2 separate regions of the Homo sapiens genome follow, and region 2 is linked to region 1. The links are contacts of gene promoters, found by promoter capture Hi-C in blood cells and fetal thymus (Javierre and others, 2016). All regions are on one chromosome and are shown on one strand. Each heading gives the region's core, a stretch centred on a gene start or on the middle of the fragment in contact. The rest is flanking DNA. Distances are from core to core; before and after follow the strand shown. Region 1 holds the start of FOXP1 (forkhead box P1). Region 2 overlaps FOXP1 (forkhead box P1).

Region 1 (3,697 bases), core at 1,080-3,579:
TGATGTCAAAGAGTTGTTGGCAGTATTAACTGAGTTGACATAAAGCTTTTAGTTCAGTGCCTAGATCATAGTATTTAATAAATGTTAGATGTTATTATTGACAGCTTAGACTGTGAGCTCCTCAAGGGCAGGAATTTTTATTTTTTCATCCCTCTGTGCCCACTCTGTGGTCTAGCACACAGTGGGTATGTCATTAATCCCTTTATGTCTTGACAAACAAGACGTCGAACCCTAGCCTCTAGGAAGCTAGGACATTCCATACAAACTAAAATGCATTTTATTGGTCTAGATTCTAGTCTAAAAGATTCAGTGAATAGTCTTATCTGGATAGCATGGAACTTTATGCAGCATGCATGCAATGTGAATTCTACCAGGCTGAAATTACCTTAGCAGCCTCCCTTTCTTTTATTCTGTAGCATCAGCGAATGGCTTTGTTATTTTTTTTTTTTAACTTGCGAAAGATACAATTTCAAAGCGATAGTCTTATGCCACCCTTGAAATTAAGATTTAAGTTCTTCTGTAAATTAATGTTTAACAATATTTGTAAAGGGGCATTACGCGAAAGAATTTAATAATAACCTTTTCAGGATATTATCTACAACTGTGCTGGTCTCAAGACCAAAGGGACAGTAAGCCTCTCCCCTCCCCGCAAGGGGAAGTACTTTGTAGGAATCCACAGGGGTGACTTTTAATATATTCTCATAAAGAATTGGCCTGGTGTACACCAGCCAGCCAGTAGCTGGAAATGCTGGTTTGGGAGTCTGGCCACTTCTGTGGTGGTGGGTCTGAAAAAATTTACTTCTGTTAACAACAACAACAACAACAACAACAAGACATAGAGGTCTTACAGCTTTCCAAGTCACGTTTTGGAAACACATACTCTGCTTCCTTCTCTATGCGTATTGATAAAAGTGAAAGAAATACTAGTGTCTTTTGTTTTATGTATGTATATTTCAAAACATTTAATTCAGGCTCTTAGTTTATTCCTTCGAATTTCTAAATTCAACCAAACTTCAAAAACCGCAAAAAGAAAAAAAAAAATCTCACCTTTTCAAAGAATTGGACAAAGCTTTTTGCACGTGACTGATCACTGGGAGAGCAGGTAATTTGTGTTAAACAACGGACTGACATGCTAGCCCCCAGGCGTTTTCCTAAGAGGAGTCGTGGCAAGAACACAGTTCCTGATGCAGCCACCTTCCCCCAAAGTGGACTCGATTGCACATTCCTGCAGTGGCTCTGACAAGGGGGCAGAAGCTCGTCCCACATTCACACTCTCCTGATTCCGAGAAACAGGGGAGAAAACCCCTCGCTGGCTGGCGGGGTTTCTGTTTCCTTGCAAACAGGGGTTTGTCCTTCTGCTGAACTTTCACCTCCCGAACTCGCCTTCTTTCATTGGACAAAGTGCAGAAAGAAAGAGGAGAGACCGAGGGAGGACGGGAGAGAGGGAGAAAGGGGGTTGAAAACACCACCTCCCACCCCGCTCTCCTTCAACTGTCACTGATGGCAAAACACTTTCACTTTTAACTGGAGGAAACTCACATTCTAGCCTGTCCTCTCCCCTCCCTTTCATATTTTTAGCTCAGAATCCAAGCAAATAGCCATCGCATTCCCATCTTCGTCCCTAGTTAACACTCTCCCTTCTCGTTTTTTCCGCTGTCTGAATGGGCCCCCCATTTCCCATCTCCTGAGGAATCTCCCCCTCCGCCCCCCTGCCCCTTATTTTCCAGGTCTTTCCTGCCAGATCCCTCTGTTGCCAGGGACTGCTCTGGCGTTCCCTTCCTCTCTCTGGTCCGCGGGGCTCTGCCTCCCTCTCCTCTTTCCAATCCTGCCTGGACGCCCCTCACTTCCCCCTCCCTGGATCCCTCCCCCCAACCCCCCCCCCCATTCTTTGGCAATTGCGATTTTTTTTTTCTGGGAGCCCGGTTGTTTACCCAGCAGGTGGATGTGACGTCAGGGACGCACAACAGCAAAAAATAACAACATCTCCCTCCGCGACGTGTTGGCCTCTCTCGCGCGCCTTATTTATTTATTTGTTCCGGGATGTCGGGGGGGAGGGGGGAGGGAGGAGGGGGGTGGGCGCCAGCGCCCCGGCGAACGGCAAAGAGGGAGCCGCTCCCGCTCGGGGGGCCGCTGGAGTGCCCAGCGGGGTGCGTGAAGCGGAGAGGGGACCCCTGCGGGAGGTAGAGGGTCGGGCCGGGGTGCGCCCCCGGGCCGGTGCTGCCCGCGCCTCTGCCGCCGCCGCCGCCGCCACCGGCGCTGGCTGGGCTCCGGGAAGCTAGTCCGGAGCGGAGGAATCTATTGTTATTTATTGTGTGGCGGTTGCACGCTGTACTCGCGGCGGCCCGGCCCTCGCCCGGGAGTGCGTGTGTGCGCGCGTGTGTGCGCGAGTGAGTGTGTGCGCGGGGTGCGCGCGCGGGCGGGAGTGGGCGCGCGCGGGGAAAGGCCCGAAAACACCTTAGTTTGCACCGAGAGACCATTTGCAGCGGGTGAGTTTGTATTTTTCCATTTCTGCTCCACTTTTTCCCAAGCCGCCTCCTGTCTTGTTTCCGCCACTTTAAACAACAACAACAACCAGCACAAAAAAAAAAAAAGAAAGAAAGAAAAAGAGAAAAAAAATGGAAAAAAAAAAACAACTACTTTCCACCTCCAGGCTCCACGTGCATCTCCCCCAGCCCTCCCCTCTCTTCCTCTCCCCCCCGGGTCGAGGCCCAGCTCTGGGATGGGTGGGGGCTGCGGGCCGGCGCGCGGGTGGAGGGAGCTCCGGCGGCGCCCGCACCCTTTGGGTTTATTTGCATAAGTCAAATGGGGGCGGGGGCGGTGGCGACTGTGAGGAGGCGAGATCGCCTGCCCGTAGGCCCCTTCACGCCTCTCTCTGCGCTCTCCACGATCGCCTAGGGGAGAGAAATCAATAAGCCCAGGCCGCCTGGCGCAACTTTCGATGTCCGGCGTTGGCGTCCGGTGGCCGCCCGGGCGCGGGGCCGGTGCGGGGTCCCGGGTCCTGGCCGCGGCGGGAGGGGGCGCGCGCCGGGCGCCTCCTAGGCCCAAAGTTTAGACTTGGAGCAAACTTTTCCCCTTCTTTCCCCGCGGGTGTGTGCCCCCTCGGTGCCCTTGAGCTGCCCCGCGGGCCCCAGCAAACTGACTGTGGTGCCTGGCCCTGGGCCCCGCACTGGGGAACTTCCCCGCTGCCACGCGCGCGTTACCCCGAGAGTCAGCGGCGAGGAAGCTCTCCCGCCACCCCCTCGGAGCCCGGAAAATTCAAACACGCACCTGCGCACCCCCAGCCAGACACGCACCCCTACGCGCGCTCGGCCTCCGCTTTCCCGAGACGAGTCCGCAACAGCCGTGGCCAGATCCACGGGTGGGTGCGGGAGCCGGATGCGCTGCGAGGAGTCGCCGCGCCCGGATCTCTCTCCCACCATCACACACATTTTCTGATTTTACCCCCCTCTGAAGCTTGGGGGACGGGGAGATTTCCCAAGCTCCGATTTGTCCTGCGTCGCGCGCGTGTCGCCTCGTCCCTCCGGCCCTGTCCTGGCGGCCGATGGCTCTCCGTCCCTCGCTTGCGCGCAGCCTTCCTCCCGAGCTCCCTGCGCTCTATTCCTGTCCCGCCGAGACGACTCCCTGGAGCCAGCGAGCCGAGGCGGCGTGCGCTTCGAGTGGGGACCACGGCGGTGGCGGCGGCGCCGGGAGCCGAGGA
Region 2 (3,250 bases), core at 408-2,907, 280 kb after region 1:
TCAAGAAAGGGAAGGGGGAAATACTATAAATGGGGAAAAAAAGAGCTGATACTCTTCATTTTCAGTTTTGTGAAATGAGATTGCACCTCCACATTTACCTGCAACTCAGTTCCAAGTAGGACATACTAGTGGACACCGTGTATTATATGTCACACAGATTAAATTAAGGGCAAAATATATCCATAGAAAGTATGATATTGAAATACTGCAATAATCTGAGGGTTCTTTAGAATAACAGTCCTAATTAGGGAGGAGGGGTGGTTGGGGAGGTAGAGAAAGAGGAATGTACATTTAGTGTCTCACCCTAGAGTTCGCAGTAGAAATTTGGTGTCCTGGACATGGTTTTTGTGGTCACTGTGTAACTTCAGGTAAATGATACTGTTGCAATCAATAGTGAAGAGGCCATGGAACAATTCTGGTGTTCACAGGATCTTAACTGTTACAGAGAATGACATAAAGGAAAATAAGTAATTTCTGTTTACCATATCCTTGGCTCACTTTTAAAACCTAAAACCAGTAGGAAACTTAAAAAAGAAAGAGAAAAAGAAAAAAAAACGCAATTCGTATGGAGACAGCATTTTTTAAAAGAAGACAAGTGGGCTGGAGGGGAATGTATTTCTTTTATCTTTATCTTTTTTTTTTTTTTTTTTACATAAAAGCTTTGCATAATCATTTAATTTTAGTTTTGGTGCTTGTGCTGCCAGTAAGCATACAGGTAAATAGTTGATCTATTTGATAAGTAAAAGTGATTTAAAGAAAATAGCAAATATAGTATTGGAAAGGGAAGTTGTATGCTTTGGAAAAAATGAAATGCCTATTTTTCTGCTAGTTGTTGGTTTCCAATTCTTCTAAGCTAGTAATGAGGCAGACTCGGGCCCCAGTACTAGCCCTAATTTTCTTGTCTATTATATTGACACATTTCATTTACTTTAGCATGATGGCAAACAGCTGTTGAACTATTAATCTTTTTCTCAGCAAAACTAGAAAAATGTCTGTTAGATTACTTTGTTAATGTTATACCTTCTCTAAAAATGAAAATCAACAGAAATAAATTAATGAGTGGCCAATCGTGCATGTGCACCAAAATTTATGGAACTTCAAAATGGAGAAAGATAGAGATTATATCCCACTGCCCATTTTTTATGTATAAGTGAAAATTAAATGTAGTCAGTTTCGTATTGTTTTAGTATTTATAAATTGGATGGTCAGTTGTATAATTTTGTTGTAATTCTTTCCCCAGTATCCCTAGGGGAAAAAAATGATACTGGTTAAATCTGAGGCTGAATCAGCTTCTATTTTTGTTCTGTGTTCACTTACACACTATACTGTGTGGATAGGTGAGTAGAAAAACAGGTCTAGTGTTTACCTGAAAGTGTTCCGCAGGTTCAAATGCAGCACTGGAGATAACTTTATTCGAAGGAGGCATTTTCAGCAGTTTTTTAAAAAAATTAAATTTTAATGAGGTCCAGTTGTTTGCCAGGCCTATATGATGGCAAATCTCATCTGCATTGCAAAGTCTAATACTATAGGTCTGACTGCCAAACATGCAAAAATAGACACAGCTCAATAGATAAACATATAAATTAGTTTACAGTGCATGTATTGGAGAACATCTCAAGTAAAAAGGAGAGAGGAAAAGGCGTTCTTGCTTTGAATTGAGTAGGATCTGCCAAAGTTCACTTGCTTTACATTTAAGATTTGATGAGTGGTAGATGTAGAAATTTCTGTGTGCGCTTTGTATCTACTGAGCTCTGATTTGTGTAGAGTGGGGCTCTGCAGATCTTAGCTCTACCTTGAGGACCTGACCATCTTTGCTCTGTTTTTCTTTCTTATCGTTGCTTGCCCTGAAATAGACTTCTCACTACTGGAGAAACCAATCTTGGGGACATACATCAGCAGTAAAGCACACGATTTTCATTTTCAATTTGAATTGTTTTGTGTAAAAACAAAAAGGTTTTGGTCAGGCTGCAAAATAGTAATTTTAAGTCCCAGAGCTAGGGTTTTCCCCCACCCAAATGGTGAAAATTTATGGTGAAAACCTCCAATTTCCTCTTACAGTAAACATGAAAATTATGATTTCACTCAGAGCCTGCGTCTTTTTCCAATCTTAATGGCAAGAATCTGCATACACTTGCTTGTGGAAATGTCATAAATTGGCCTCGGATCAATTCCTCAAAGATAGTACACACCAAAGTGCCACTTTCAAATTTTTAGCCCTCGTGAAATAAGATTTTACTCTTCTCAATGATGTTTGCCTTTCCACATTCAGGGCTGACAGCAGAGGGATGAGCAGGGATATATTCCTATAAAATTAAACCACTTCATTACATGCTATTCTGAAGAGTGAGCAAAAAGATATTAACATTTTGGTAAAATGATGATATGATTTCGCCACCTTAAAAATTATATGAGCATTTGGTCAATGGATATGGAATGAATCCTGTACCCTCTTAGTAACTTGATCTAAATTAATAAACAAATGTTTTTCTTTTCACTCGTGCCATATGTTGATCCCAGTTACATGGGCAGAAAGAGGCAGCTTGTAATGTTTCTTAAAGGATTAAACACTGTTTTGCATACGGGAGTATGCAGATGCAGGAGTAGGATGTGGGGTAAAATGTGTTCCATGGTTTCTTTGTGTTTTAGGAAGCTTGATTTCAATTGTTTGTTTCATGTGACATGAACCCTTTTTAATTTAACTTAGTAGCTCCGGTAGATACATGGTAAGAGAAAAACATTCTGTGAACAGCTTTCGCCAGCAATTAACTCCCTGCCCCTCCCCAAAGTGAAAATGGTGCTGCTTTCATTCATTTTGAAAGGTCCGAAGTGGCAGAAAGCATCTTGTCTACAAGACCTAACTCTCTTCCAAAAGGGGAAAAAAATAAGTCTTTGCTTTAATGAAATAAGAGATGTTGTGGATATTAACCAAACAGAGACACGTTCAAGTGGCAGTCTGGTTTCCAAAAACAGAGGCCTATGAGTCACATATTATTCTCCATGAAAATAAATCGATAGACAACAAGATGAGAAAAAGTTGATACACAACATTTGAAATGTTTCACCTTGACTTTTCCCCACCAAGTCAATTTTGTTGTCTTGAAGAGCTCAAAGGCATATGGTCCAGATAAGTAGAGATTCTTGGGACTTGTTTTTATTAACCCTGAAAGTCATTTGCCATTAAATAGAATTGAGTGCTTTTGTTGTTTTCCTTGTGTCTGTCCTTGGCAGAGGTGGTTGCTACTTCTCTTGA

The links. The method cuts DNA at HindIII sites, captures the fragments that hold promoters and counts their contacts. A CHiCAGO score of 5 or more calls a contact.
Region 2: a fragment that was not itself captured here is called in contact with the fragment with the promoter of FOXP1 in region 1 in 10 of 17 cell types (naive B cells, total B cells, activated CD4 T cells and 7 more); the score reaches 9.6 in naive B cells.

What each region holds. Positions count from the first base shown.
Region 1 is chr3:71,582,360-71,586,056 of GRCh38, reverse strand. It overlaps FOXP1 (forkhead box P1), which reads left to right and starts at 2,329. Exons shown (of 21, transcript NM_001349338.3): 1 at 2,329-2,486. FOXP1-DT (FOXP1 divergent transcript) reads right to left here and starts at 1,114. Exons shown (of 1, transcript NR_182289.1): 1 at 1-1,114. RefSeq lists an enhancer at 1,845-2,139 and a silencer at 2,217-2,456. The HindIII fragment of the contact is 2,384 bases long and covers 1,072-3,455 here.
Region 2 is chr3:71,299,914-71,303,163 of GRCh38, reverse strand. The region is part of intron 4 of FOXP1 (forkhead box P1); the gene reads left to right. FOXP1-AS1 (FOXP1 antisense RNA 1) reads right to left here. Exons shown (of 5, transcript NR_126463.1): 4 at 304-436. Among named protein-coding and RNA genes, the nearest start is that of FOXP1-AS1, 12 kb to the right of the region's middle. The HindIII fragment of the contact is 1,991 bases long and covers 662-2,652 here.